4 separate regions of the Homo sapiens genome follow, and regions 1, 2 and 4 are each linked to region 3. Evidence: promoter capture Hi-C in human tissues and cell types (Jung and others, 2019). All regions are on one chromosome and are shown on one strand. The core of a region is centred on a gene start or on the middle of the fragment in contact, and the rest is flanking DNA. Distances in the headings are between cores, read along the strand shown. Region 1 overlaps EXT1 (exostosin glycosyltransferase 1). Region 2 overlaps EXT1 (exostosin glycosyltransferase 1). Region 3 holds the start of MED30 (mediator complex subunit 30). Region 4 overlaps EXT1 (exostosin glycosyltransferase 1).

Region 1 (3,371 bases), core at 13-2,512, 380 kb before region 3:
CTTCTGGACAAATGACTTTATCTTTTATCTATAAAGTGGGTATAACAAGGACAATAATCACTTAGAAAGTATTTTGTGCCATGCCTTATGTTCAATAATATTCTTACCTATGAGGTGGCTTCTTGCATTCAAAGTGGAACAAACTTGAGGCTTAAAAATTCCAGGCGGCTGGGTGCGGTGGTTCACGCCTATAATCCGACCGTTTTGGGAGGCTGAGGAGGGCAGATCGCTTGAGCCCAGGAGTTCAAAACCAGCCTGGGCAACATGGTGAAACCTCGAAACCTCATCTCTACTAAAAATACAAAAATTAGCTGGGCGTGGTTGTACGCGCCTGTAATCCCAGCTACTCGGAAGGCTGAGGCGGGAGAATTGCTTGAACCCAGGAGGCAGAGGTTGAAGTGAACCGAGATCGGGCCGTTGGACTCCAGCCTGGTCGACAGAGCGAGACTCTGTCTCAAAAAAAAAAAAAAAAAAAAAGAGAAAAGAAGCCCGGCAATGGGCTACAAAGACACTCTTGGAAAGTGCTGAATCTGAGATTGAAAACAAGGCCTGCTTTAGATCCAGAGCTCAAGTCCTTAGCCAATATGACCTTTCAGATTGCTACAAGTGTTCATTGAAATAAAGCAGGAACAGTGCCTAGCACAGATTCCAGCACACAGGAGACCTGCAGTAAAGATAAACCCACTTTGGCACTTCCACTCGTGGGGGAGAGCAGTCAGCCCTTAGCTTGTCCCTTAACAGTAAGACTGCCACACCATCTGATGCATGACTACCAGCTCCTTTTGAATCTACTCGGAAGGACAATGTGCACGCTCTGTGCCCTGCTGGATATGGTTTAATTTTCTCATTTCTACAAGCTCTAGGTTACAGGGGATAAAGCCACATGCAGCTAGTATGGACAGAACAACTAGTTCTGGTTGAATTATTCAGTTCTTAACTGGCTGCAGCTTTGGGATCTTAGAAACACAGTCCTTAACCTTGCATTCTTTCCACTTGAAAAATAAAATGTAGGTGCCCAGCAGGGAAATTCCATGGACAGAATAGCTGTCAAGTAGGGGCACTTCTTAGAGCAGGGAGGAAGCTGAGCAAGTGGGGGTGAAGGGAAACATGGAGGCAGAGGCTGGGGGGCTGGGACCCTGGGTGGCAAGAAGCTGAGCACAGATCATCATTCTCCCTTAGGGCTAGAACCTGTGAACCTGAACCCTTCATTGAGGGGCACTGAATTTAGAAGGCAGCTCTTCTGTTTGTCGCTTGTTCTTTCTCTCAATGTAATTAAGAAGACTTTGAAGAAGGAATATTGTGCTAAAGCCTAGATAAGAACCTGTTCTCCATCCACCTCCCCAAATCCCTAAAGCCTTGTTTGATTTTAATATTTTTCTTTTGGATTTCACTTTGCTGCTGTGTGAAGGGGCAGCAGGTGGGGAGGGTAGAGAGGAGGGTTCCTGGGGAAGCAGAAACCCTTATGGAAACCCATTTTTAATCTGGATGATGGCTCGGTAATGTAAGCCGTGAGAGTTGGCAGAGGAGTGAAAACTGTAGGATTAATGGCCTTGGGCCTAATTCCCTGATACCTTTTAAAAGGCCAGCTAACCAGCTGGCTTCCTCCTTTTGCTCCATATACACTCCCTCCTCCCTTATCTTCATTGTTTTTTGCTTTCTTTTTTGGCTGATTTTTAACTCCTTCTCTGAATCTGAAAGAGAGAGTTGTATGTATATGATGATTTGTGTTAAAGATGCTTAGAAATTAATATACTAAAGGAAGCTCGTAATAAAATACAAAAGATGATGATTTGCATTGTAAAGTAATCTGGATTTTTTTGGTGCAAGTTGTCTTTAAATAGAAACTCTTCTTGATTTGTGCATGCATGTGCACACATGCACACACATCCATAGACAGGCATAAGCATGTGTGCCTGAATGTGAGTTTTCAAGTTTAAACCCTTAGAATATGTGTTTTCTGTGTAGGTAGAAATGAAATCCCACAAATGTTATCAATTCTTGTGAGGTTCCAGGTAAAATATACATGCATGACCTTCTCTACGTTTTACAACATTACTGCTTTCCCCAAGTGCCCGTTTATCTGTATTTCAGAAACCCATGTGATCTGTAAATCAGGTAGGCCAATGTGGAATGATATATCTGTGTGCTGGGATCTGCATGTGGGCTGCTGGAAGTTTGAGTTTGCAGGTAATGAGCGTTACTTTGGATGCGAACGGAGGCACTAGGCAGGGAGCAAAAAGGAGGGTAACTTACTCCAGCAAAGGAGGACATGATTAGTGTTTCCAGCATGAAACCTTTGAAGTGGGTCAGCAGGAAAGGAAGAAAAAGCAAAAACATCCAGACATGGGAGAATCAGAACATTTCTTGTTGCCTAGGTTATTCTGGTAGACTTTGAAATGCCAGTCCCTATTAGTTTGGTGGGTAAACATTCTCATTATTTTCTGTAATTGGCATTATTATTGGAAGGTAATTAACGACAGTAACATTTTCGTATAACACTCAGACCTGGATGGGTCTTAATGACTTCCCTTCAGTCTTGCGTGAAGTTGTTTTCTGTTTGATTTTTGAGTGCTTGAAACTACTTAGGGTTCTGGCTGTGAGTGGACTCTGCTGGCCCTGCTATGTTTTATAATATAATTGCATTGACCATGCCTGTCAAATTGTCTTCATTCTTTCTGTCCTAGCCTAATGCCTGGCCAGAACAGGTGCCCAATAAAGTGTAGCAGTTATTGCAGCATTTGTCAACTAAAACATTGAAACCCGTTTATAACTCCTATGGTCATGACTGGTTTATGTCCGTAGACAACGCTTGATATTTTTGGATTGTAGAATGCTTTTACCAAATCAGAGGTAAACCCCACAGAGACCCTATTAGAGCCGAGCCCAAGCAAGCCAGATGTTATCAAATCACTCACTGTAACTTCACAGCCTTCCCTGGTTCACGACCATTTTGATCATGTCATCTAAGATGACATCATGATCGAATTGACAGTGGATTATTAGTTCACCCATCAGAGGTTGTGACAATTTGATACAGCAAACCCAGAAGCTTATAGACATTGTATTTGCCAGTTGATGCTTAATCTAATCAGCCTATTTATATTCAGTGAAACTCTCATATCTACACATTTCCACATCTATTTTTAGCTCCTTTATCACTTCCTGTCATTTCCTCTTGCTGTCCCTCACCTCCTCAAATGAGGTGCCAGGACTAAACTGGACATTGCGAGAAGGGAGGCGGCCTTATTTAGAGTGTGTTGCCTATAACACATTTAATTTGCCGCAGTCCAGATCAGTCGCAGCCTCTCTAACTACAAGTGGCAGAGGTGGCTGTCTTGGGAAGAGGCACTTACACTGTCCATTCTCTGCTT
Region 2 (3,634 bases), core at 441-2,940, 450 kb before region 3:
CCAGATGATGATTAAGCATCTATAATTTACGTGACCACAATTAATTCATGGAGTGGGTTTTTTGGTGGAGAGCAGGGGTGCTGAGCATTCTTTAGCCCTTCATCGCCAATATTAATTTGAATGGCTTCTGTACCTCCTTGTAATTGAATTATTAATAATCACAAAGAGCTTATAAACTTCGAATTTAATCTTCATTAATATATAAAGCTCAAAGAGTAATGTCTTTTGACCATGAGTAGACTGCTTCTCTAATTTATCTTCAAAGTTGCTTTTTTTTCTTCCTGTAAGTTTCTGTAGTCCCCTTGACTCCTAAAAGTGAGTGTCATGGAGTGGCTTTGATCAGGGAACATACATCAGTAACTGTTTTGTGACCTTAGTCCCGGCTGTGTTTTATGGCTTGGCCAAAGTTTATCATATAATTTCCACTTTAGGAATTTGCCCACTTACTAAGGCTTTGAGGGCAGGGGAGGTGAAGTAGTATTGTGGGAGAGGAGTAATAAATGTGTTTTCTTTTCAGTTTCTACAGTGAGTGGTCTGTTTTGAAATGAGTGCAGGTGGTTGCAGTCCACTCCCTCCCCAAACAGGACAAATTAAGATCATTTTGCTCTTTCGGGAAGCTGAGGGCAAGCCTGCACAGGTGAGGTCACGAGAGGCAAGCTATGTGCACACCTGGTGTCCTCGTGCTTCTTGGGCAGGCCAGCTCCATGCAGTGCAGTGCCCCTGAAGGGAATGGGGCCAGGAGAAGACATAACAGGGCATGAGGATCTTCTCTGTGCCAAGAATCATGCTAGGTAACCCCCCTGAGATTTCTCATCCTCTTGAGAATCCTGTGAGATGATCCTGCTGCCCTTATTTTTCCAGATGGAAAAACGGATTACCCAGGATTCACCGCTTGTGAGTGGCAGAAAGTGGCAGCATTAGAACTGCTGCACTCCATGGATACATCCAGCACATGTGCTCTCCTCTAGTGTGTGATTCCGGTTCATTTAAGTCAGATTTTGGATTCCACTCAATGAAGTTTGTAACTGCTAAGTTGTGATGTGAGCACTTAGATCACCAAGAATTTCAACTAACCCACTATGCTCAAAGTGTGGTCCATGGACCAAGTACCTTGGAATCCCTTGAAAGCCCCTGTTGAAAATTCAGATTCCTGGCCGGGCATGGTGGCTCACGCCTGTAATCCCAGCATTTTGGGAGGCTGAGGCAGGCAGATCACAAGGTCAGGAGTTTGAGACCAGCCTGACCAATATGATGAAACCCCATCTCTACTAAAAATACCAAAAAAAATTAGCCAGGCATGGTGGTACACACCTGTAATCCCAACTAATCAAGAGGCTGAGGCAGGAGAATCACTTAAACCTGGGAGGCGGAGTTGCAGTGAGCTGAGATCACGCCACTGCACTCCAGCCTGTGTGACAGAGTGAGACTCCGTGTCAAAAAAAAAAAAAAAAATGTAGATTCCTGAGCCCTGCCTCAAACCAATTAGGTCAGAAGTTCTGGGGGTACAGCCCAGGTGTAGGTTCTCTGGGAGAGTCTGTCATGCACTAAAATTTGAGAGTCATGCCATAAAACCTCTTTATAGTGCTCCAGTATAAAAAAGATCTTGGGGTTAAGCTTAGCTAAACAAATACGTCTGCAGGCTGGCAGTTCATGAATTCCACCTAAAGACTATCTGGTTTATCCCTCATTTTACACAAAAGGAAACTGTGGTTTAGAGGGTTGAAGTAACATGTTAAAATTCTCATGGCTTTTTTGTGGTAGAGCAGACACTAGAATCAGTTCTCCTTCCTCCGGTCCATAGCTGGCTGCTTCTAATCTTTTAAAAATCAGCTAATCAAGGTAACTTGGATCCATTTCAATCCTGTCAGTGACCCTACGTTCAATATAAAAGATGAGTCCTGGGAGAACTGCCGTTCTGATTCACATTCATCTGAATGTTGAAAAAGTGCATTTCTTCAGAGTGCTCTGTAGGAGGTGGAAATATTCAATAAGCTTGCGAGAAAGGTTTCCATCTCAACCACACCATGTGTGCATGTGCATGCACATACACGCGTGCGCGCGCACACACACACACCACTGCCACCACCACATAGCTCAGATCTGTCACAACATGAGGGAGGGGACTCGCAAACATGCATAATTTATGCAGGATTTTCACGGATTTTTCAGTATTTGGAAGTGATTTCTTAAATTATACATTGAAACAGCTCCATAAAGATGAAGCTGGAGTTAGTTTCACAATAGCCTTAAAAGTGAGAGAATTTGCGTCTCTGGGATCAATGTGCATATTTCAAAGTGAGACGTTTCACTTTATAGAATTTAGAGGGTCTCAAGGCTGTGGTTGACATTTTTAGTTTGTTGGGCTAAACAACCATTTGCTATACAATACTATGGAAACGAATGGTGGAAGAGATTGCCCTGGAAAACTCTGTTCAATTCCGTTAAGAAATATTAAATTCCTGAGGACAATCTACTTGTTTATTATTTTCAATTTCTCTTAAAATAGTATAAAAGGATCTTCTTGGGTGGCAGTACAGGGATGACAAGGAAGGGACCAAATCTCAGTTGTTCACATTTTTACTTAGTTTGGATTCCAAATAATGGGGCTTCTCATAAAAGATTTGGACCCTGCCCCGAGGCTTTTGGTAATAAATGTGGCCGCTTTGTTTTTTTCCCTAATTATTTCATTCGTAAAAGTCTTATCTTCCCAATAAAGATGGTAACTCCTCTGGACTGGGTCTGCTTTTCGCATTTTCCTTCTTTTATATACCACCATGGTATAGAACTTATTTTTGCTTAATAAACAGTTTGGACATCAGGAAGAGACAGAGCTGTATACAATAGGTAGTTTACAGTCAAATATTTACTGCTTTAAATAAGGCAGAATTGGCTGGGCACAGTGGCTCACGCCTGTAATCCCAGCACTTTGGGAGGCCGAGGCGGGCGGATCACAAGGTCAGGAGATCGAGACCATCCTGGCTAACCTGGTGAAACCCCGTCTCTACTAAAAATACAAAAAATTAGCCGGGCGTCGTGGTGGGCGCCTATAGTCCCAGCTACTCGGGAGGCTGAGGCAGGAGAATGGCGTGAACCCGGGAGGTGGAGCTTGCAGTGAGCCGAGATCAAGCCACTGCACTCCAGCCTGGGTGACAGAGTGAGACTCCGTCTCAAAAAAAAAAAAAAAAAAAAAAAAAAAAAAAAAATAAATAAATAAATAAATAAATAAATAAGGCAGAATAAGTAGTATTTAATTAGAGCACAGACTTTGTGGTAAGGCAGGCCTGAGTTTGAACCTCAGCTGTGATACTTATTGCCTCATTTGAAAAAAGTAAATTTTGGCCAGGCATGGTGACTCACACCTATAATCCCAGAACTTTAGGAGGCCAAGGAAGGAGGATTGCTTGAGCCCAGGAGTTCAAGACCACCCTGTGCAACACAACGAGACCTTTAAAATTTCAAAAAACTACTAAAAATTTCAAAATAATTAGCTGGGCACGGTGTTGTGTGCCTGTAGTCACAGCTACTGGGGAGGTTGGGGTGGGAGGATCGCTTGGGCCCCCGAGATGGAGGCCACAGTCAGCTATGATCATGCCCCTGCATTCCAGTCTGAGTGACAGACCCTGTCTCAAATAAA
Region 3 (3,346 bases), core at 382-2,881:
AAACTAAATATAGGTTGTAGACCTAAATATAAAGCTTGAAAGTACAAAACTTCTAGAAGAAAACAGAAACCCTTTGTCACCTTGGGTTAGGCAAAGATTTCTTAGGTATGACAGCAAAACCAAAATCTATAAAAGAACAAATCAGTAAGCTGGATTCCATCAAAATTTAAAATGTCTGTTCTTCAAAAGACAGTATTAAGAGAATAAAAAGGCAGGATAGACTGGGAGAAGTATTTGGAAAGCATCAAGACATAACAGGTGTTGATGAGGATGAGGAGAAACTAGAACCCTCAAACAGCAATGTTTACATTCCCACTAGCAATAATCGGGACGTAAAATGGCTCAGGCCACTTTGGAAAAGTTTCTTAAAGTATTAAACAGACATGTACTGCATGATCCAGCAATTCCACTCCTGAATCTGTCCAAGAGAAATGACACATACGTTCACACAAAAATTTGTCAGCAAAAGTTCATAGCAGCATTATTTACAACAGCCAAAAAGTGGAAACAACCCAAATGTCCATCAACAGAAGAAAAGGTAGGCAAATGGTGATACATGGATACAATGGAACATTACTCAGCAATAAAAAGGAAATTATTGATGCATTCTTAGTGAAGGATCTCAGACAAAAAAAAAAGCCCACATACTGTAGACTCCGTTTATATAAAACCCTAGCAAATGCAAATTAATTTATGATTACAGAACGCAGATCAATGGTTGCTTAGCGATGGAAGGTGGGAAGCAAAGATGTCAGAGGGGTATGAAGAAACTTTCTGGGATGATGTGTACACTATTTTGATTGTGGTGATAATTTCACAAGTATACAGACTACAGTACACATATATATCAAAACTTTAGGTGAGTGTAGTTTACTGTATATTAACTATGCCAAAAAAAGGAGGACTGTTTTTTTAAAAAAAATGTAAATTCTTCAACTCCTTGGACCTCCCCAGAAGAAATGCTGGAAAAAACATTTAAAGCAACCTAAAGAGGGAAGTGGAGTGCGACCCATCTCTGCCTTGAAAGGTGCAAGAGTTTACAGAGTAACTAAAGAGCTCGATTGAATCTAAAAAAAATTGGCTTCAATTCTGCAGAAATCTGGTCTGGAAAACATCACCTCTACAAATCCGACTTTTGGGGACACTCTTGAGTGTGAATGGGGGAGACCCTACACCTAAGGTTTGCCCAGGGCAGCCCCGATGACATCCACGGGCCCCACGTAAAGAGGAAACCAGAGGCCCTTTCCCTCCCAGCTGCATCCCCCTGGCCTCGCGCGCCCGCCTTCCTACCTGCATGTTCCTCAGGAGCTGGAAGATCTCCATGGTGCGGTACACGATGTCCTGCACTGTCTCCTGCCCGATGCGGCACAGCGACGCCGTGTTGACTTCCCGGGCGGCCTGCTGAGCCTGGGGCCCGGCGAAGGGCCCGGGCGCCATCCCCGACGCGGCCAACGGAGGGGTGGACATGGCGCGGCTGCAGCTTCAGGCCGGAAGGGGCCAGACAGCAGGTGTCAGGGGTCTGCCCGGAATTGGGAGGCTGTGGGGCCTCAGCGTTGGAACCAGCTTGAGAGACCCCCCGCGGCCCGATTTCAAAACAGCGGCCGCGACTTCCGCCCACTGTGACGTAACACGTCAGAAAACGTCATAGACACCGCCCACTCGGCGAACTGTCTCCGAGCGGAGCCGGGCTGGATTGGATTGGACCCCTGGGCGGGAAAGGACGGACGGGTTAAGTAGCCAATCACCAATTGCGCTCCAGCCAGAGGGGCGATGTTCTTGGGGAGCCTGGGGTGAGTTCCCAGAGTTCGTTTCCCAGTCTTGGCTCAGCGTTAGAACCTTCTGTGTTTAGTTCCTTGCGGAGCATTTTCTCTTAACAAGCCTGAGGTTTGTAGTATAACAGCTAAGAGACAGGTTAAAGTACTTGTTGAGTCGCATACAGGTGTAACTGGCAACCTGCGATTCGAATTCAGAAAACAAGATTCCTAAGCTTGTACGCTTCTCTGTGACATGATACGGACTCCCCGATTGCTCTTGGTCCCTGCTCAGATGTTTTATTCTTTGAGTTTTCCCAGTATCTGTAAGCAAAAAAAATGATCAACACACACACTTCTTTCTGACTCTGGCTCTTATTAGTGTCTGATTTTTTTTTCTTTTTCTTTTTGAGATGGAGTCTCGCTCTGTCACCCAGGCTGGAGTGCAGTGGCGCGACCTCGGCTCACTGCAAGCTCCGCCTCCCGGGTTCACACCATTCTCCAGCCTCGGCCTCCCGAGTAGCTGGGACTACAGGCGCCCGCCACCACGCCCGACAAATTTTTTGTATTTTTAGTAGAGACGGGGTTTCACCGTGTTAGCCGGGATGGTCTCGATCTCCTGACCTCGTGATCCGCCCGCCTCGGCCTCCCAAAGTGCTGGGATTACAGGCATAAGCCACCGCGCCCGGCCTACTGTCTGATATTTTATATAGCTTTCAGTTTGTTTACTTTCAGACTTTATCTCACCCTATCTACACACACTGCCAACTCCATGAAAACAGACTATTTTATTCACTTATTCTCAACACCTAGTGATTGGCACAAGTATCAATAAATACTTATTGAATGATTGTTGAGTGACATGATAAATGCAAGAGAAATTAAAATGTCTCTCACAATGTCTCTCACTTACTGTTCATCTCCAAAGTGGGGAAAAGTGAAGAATGTAAAATTAGTGATAGGCACAAACATTGCATTTTTTAGAAGTATCTGAATGCTCCATTGTACGGACTTTCCAGGAAATAGTTACTAAATATGTCATAGGAACCCTGGTAGAGATTTTAAACATAGTAATTCGCAGGTCTTCGGTAATTACCATTCGACAAATATTGGCTGAGCACCTATTATGTGCTGGGTGCTAGGAGTGAAGATAGCGTACTGAACAAACCAGGCAAAAGCCCTGCAGCATGTTTGTCATGGGGACAAACAGAACACTATTGTGATGAGCGTCTTGAAGCAAAAGTTCCTGATATCAGGGTGCTAACAATTTAGGAGATTGAGAACGACCTGAAGGGAGCAGTGTGGAACCTGAAGGTGGATAGGGAAGGGAGTAACGAATGATAGAGTCTTTTCTATGAGGACGAGGAAGGCCAGTGCCAACACCTGAAGTGAAGAGGCCTCCTAATGCTTTCTAGGATCTGGAAGAAGTTCAGTGTGAGGACGAGTGTTAGGAAATAAGGCTGAAGACAGAGGCAACCCTGGAGGATCTTCTAACCCATGTCAAGCAGTTGAGAATTTATGGAGTGAAATAGCAAGCCATTGAAGAGTTTCAAGGTGAGAGGAATAATTTGAAATATTCATTTTAGAACACTTAT
Region 4 (3,312 bases), core at 11-2,510, 420 kb before region 3:
ATTTTCATTACATATGAATGTTTAAAAAAACATTCAACAGAACTTGTTGGATATTTGAGTATAATCTTCTTTTTCTTTTTCTTTCGTTTTTTGGAGACCGAATTTCGCTCTTGTTGCTCAGACTGGAGTGCAATGGCATGATCTCAGCTCACCGCAACCTCCACCTCCCAGGTTCAAGCGATTCTCCTGCCTCAGCCTCCCGAGTAGCTGGGATTACAGGCGTGCACCACCATGCCTGGCTAATTTTGTATTTTTAGTAGAGATGGGCTTTCTCCATGTTGGTCAGTCTGGTCTGGAACTCCCGACCTCAGGTGATCTGCCCACCTCGGCCTCCCAAAGTCCTAGGTTTATAGGCATGAGCCACCGCACCCGTCCTTGAGTATAATTTTCTTATCATTTACTCCTACCAGCCTCTGTGCTAGGTTCTGGGGGTATAAAGACAGGGGCCAGGTCTGCCTTTCCCCTACATTATTACAGTCTCATAAGGAAGAAACCCAGAGGAGTGATGATAAATGTATGCCTCAAGTATGTAGTATATAGGTGGTGCAGTTGTGGTCTGTGCACACAGGTACAATGAGGATGCAGCAAAAGGTCTGATTCATTTGGGTTACAGACTTAATAGAAGGAATGAAGCTTGAGCTGAGTTTAAAGAGTAGAAGAATTGGATTTTAATATATGGATGGGTCCTCCATGTTAAAATTAATGAGGTTGGACATTACTGAGGCTAAGACGGTAGCAGCAGGTGATGGGAAGGTCATCAGTGTTGGGGCCCATTAGACCTATAACTCCTTGAACAACTTACTTTGATCCTCAGTTGTCCCATCTGAAAATAGGATGATACTGTGCATTCCACTTGTAGAACTAGGATTGTAGCATTAGCACAGGCAGTGACAGTCATGGCATTCACAGTGTGGAGTGACACAGCAAGAGGGGTGAGGCTGCCCAGCCATTTGTACGTTTTGCCTGTAGGTCTTAAACTGGATGGCAGGAGGCTTGAAGTTGTGATTTCTACCTCATGTTTTCATTATAAAATGAGTGGTCACTTGAAGAAAAGTGACAGTGAGTTTTGTGTTTGAAACTTTTAGAAGGATCCATTCTGGAATAACCAAAGATTTAACATGAGGGTGTGCCATGTATATGAACAGAGCTCTTCTGTGCCAGGTCTCTTAAGAAGGCTGGATGTGGTTTGGGCTGAAAAAATGATCACTCACCATCAACCCTTTCTGCGCTGTGTGTGGCGAATGCCTGGGTTTGCCTTCCTGACTACTTTGCAAAGTGTGTTGCTTTTTCTGCCTCTGTTGAATTTACCCTTTTTCCAGGTTCCACTCTCACTACCCTAGATCCAGCCTTACTGGAGGCTGCACAGACCACCAGCTTTCTGAACTATGGGCCTAGCCTATTCCCCCCTCCATATGTTATAGTAGCAAAGTCCCTGCTTTAAAATTTTGCAGCTTAGGAACTCTGATTTTCTTATCTTCCTCTAACTGTCCAGTGGCTGTGTATTTCCTGCATAATAAAGATCTGAACATCTTACCATGATACGTGGTAGAGCTGCCGGCATTCATCAGATATTCATGCCTGGATTGCCTGCACATGACAATCTCCCTACTTTGGTTGCTGCTCCCCCACTTGCCTCTGACTTAGGTAGGGTTCCCTAGAGGAGTCCCGAGACGGGGTTTCTCATGCAAGTGACTTATTGAGAGAATTATTTCTTTGTAGAAGCCAGTAAAGGAATGTGAGAAGCAGGATGGGGCAGGGCAGGAAGCTGGGGAAGGATGTGGGTCTAGTTGAAGTCCAACCTCCGCCTTAACCCCTGGGGAATCTGTAGCATGAATGGCATGTATGGCCCCATGGAGACCCCCATATCAGTCAGTAACTAACTGGCTGTAGGCTGCCTTTGGGTGGGGGTAGGTAATTACCCAGGCATTTCCCCTGCAAGATCCCAGCAGCCTAGGGGTGACTGCACTGACCAATAAAAGGAATACACGCAGGATGCCAGCAGCTTCCATTGTACCCACAGGTCAAACTCCTACTGATCCTTCAAGACCCAGACAGATTTCAATTTTGTAAAGTTTTTCCCAGACCAGAAATTCTCATTCTGAACTAATGATGTTACCATCTCCCGAGTCTTCTTATGCCTCATTCTAGGCCTTATCAAGATCACCTTGTATCACTGTGGATTGGCTTAATGTCTGGCTTCCTGCTAGACTAATGAGTTTCTTGAGGGTGCAGCGTGTTTTAATTCACCTTTAAATAGCTACTCCCCAGACCCCAGGGCTGTCCCTGTGTAGCTATTTAGTAAAGGTCGTTTGAATTGAAATGAGCTGTAACATCCTTCCTTGATGCCTAGTGCTTTTAGCCCTGTGGGAATGTTTCTTCAAGCCTTCCAGATACGGGGGGCTCTTCCAGGAATGCTAGCTCAGCTTGCCACTCTTTCCACCCCAGGATTCCATAGCCATTGAGATTATACCACAGGTTCCCTGTGCCAGCATTTTCTTCCACCTGCTCCCCTGGATGTCAGTCTACATCATCTCACCAGTCGGCCTATGTCATCTCACTAGTCAGCCTGGGCAGGTAGCCTGCTGTCATCTGCTGTCCACATGGGCTGGGCCCTAGGGTAGATGGCTTGAAACAAGTATTACTTCTTGGATGACATTCTGGCTGCCACTCAGAATCTGACAGTTGGTAAATCTTGGCCTGTGCTATTGAATGCCATGACTTATTGGTGTAATGGTGAAAATTGTTCAGAGGAAGACTGGGACATCCATGGTGGACCCAAGAATCATGTCAGGGGATGGAAAAGGGCCACCATGTCCTAGTTTGGTCTAGAACTAGATTCTGCAAGTTACAGTCACAATCCAATAGCCAAATAGAAGCACTCATTCATTCATTCATTTTCTCAACAATCTTCTGTTTCTTCTTTTCTATTTATTGTGTGCTGGGTGAGGGCAAAAGTGAATAAGATGTGGTTTTTGCGTTCAAGGAATTGACAAGGGAAGGAGATGAGATTGAGACAGATGTATGCACAACTCAGAATAATGAAAGGAATAAAGGATATGCACCACAAGAAAGAAAGTGCACAGGACATTGGTTAAGAATGTGGTATCTGAAGTTAGAGGGCCTTGAAGTCAAATTCCAGCTCCATTAGTTATCAGTTGTGGGACTTTAGGCAAGTAATTTAATTTTCTCACCTTCACTATTATTCTTTTTTCTTTTTCTTTTTTTTTTTTTTTCAGAGATGGAGTTTCACTCTTGTTGCCCAGGCTGGAGTGCAGTGGTGCAATCTTGGCTTACTGCAACCTCTGCTTCCCG

What was found. Contacts are between HindIII fragments. The study calls those that stand out against the background at their distance.
Region 1: a fragment that was not itself captured here is called in contact with the fragment with the promoter of MED30 in region 3 in 1 of the 25 tissues and cell types used here (hippocampus).
Region 2: a fragment that was not itself captured here is called in contact with the fragment with the promoter of MED30 in region 3 in 1 of the 25 tissues and cell types used here (mesenchymal stem cells).
Region 4: a fragment that was not itself captured here is called in contact with the fragment with the promoter of MED30 in region 3 in 1 of the 25 tissues and cell types used here (H1 embryonic stem cells).

Annotation. Positions count from the first base shown.
Region 1 is chr8:117,894,698-117,898,068 of GRCh38, reverse strand. All of the region lies in intron 1 of EXT1 (exostosin glycosyltransferase 1), which reads left to right. Among named protein-coding and RNA genes, the nearest start is that of SNORD168, 25 kb to the left of the region's middle. The HindIII fragment of the contact is 5,152 bases long and covers 1-3,371 here.
Region 2 is chr8:117,968,123-117,971,756 of GRCh38, reverse strand. All of the region lies in intron 1 of EXT1 (exostosin glycosyltransferase 1), which reads left to right. Among named protein-coding and RNA genes, the nearest start is that of SNORD168, 49 kb to the right of the region's middle. RefSeq lists a silencer at 1,713-1,772. The HindIII fragment of the contact is 6,182 bases long and covers 1-3,634 here.
Region 3 is chr8:117,518,998-117,522,343 of GRCh38, reverse strand. MED30 (mediator complex subunit 30) reads right to left here and starts at 1,631. Exons shown (of 4, transcript NM_080651.4): 1 at 1,291-1,631. The coding sequence starts at 1,467. It overlaps LOC105375716 (a long non-coding RNA gene), which reads left to right and starts at 1,624. Exons shown (of 7, transcript XR_928569.3): 1 at 1,624-1,790; 2 at 3,167-3,305. The HindIII fragment of the contact is 5,716 bases long and covers 1-3,346 here.
Region 4 is chr8:117,939,493-117,942,804 of GRCh38, reverse strand. All of the region lies in intron 1 of EXT1 (exostosin glycosyltransferase 1), which reads left to right. Among named protein-coding and RNA genes, the nearest start is that of SNORD168, 20 kb to the right of the region's middle. The HindIII fragment of the contact is 8,665 bases long and covers 1-3,312 here.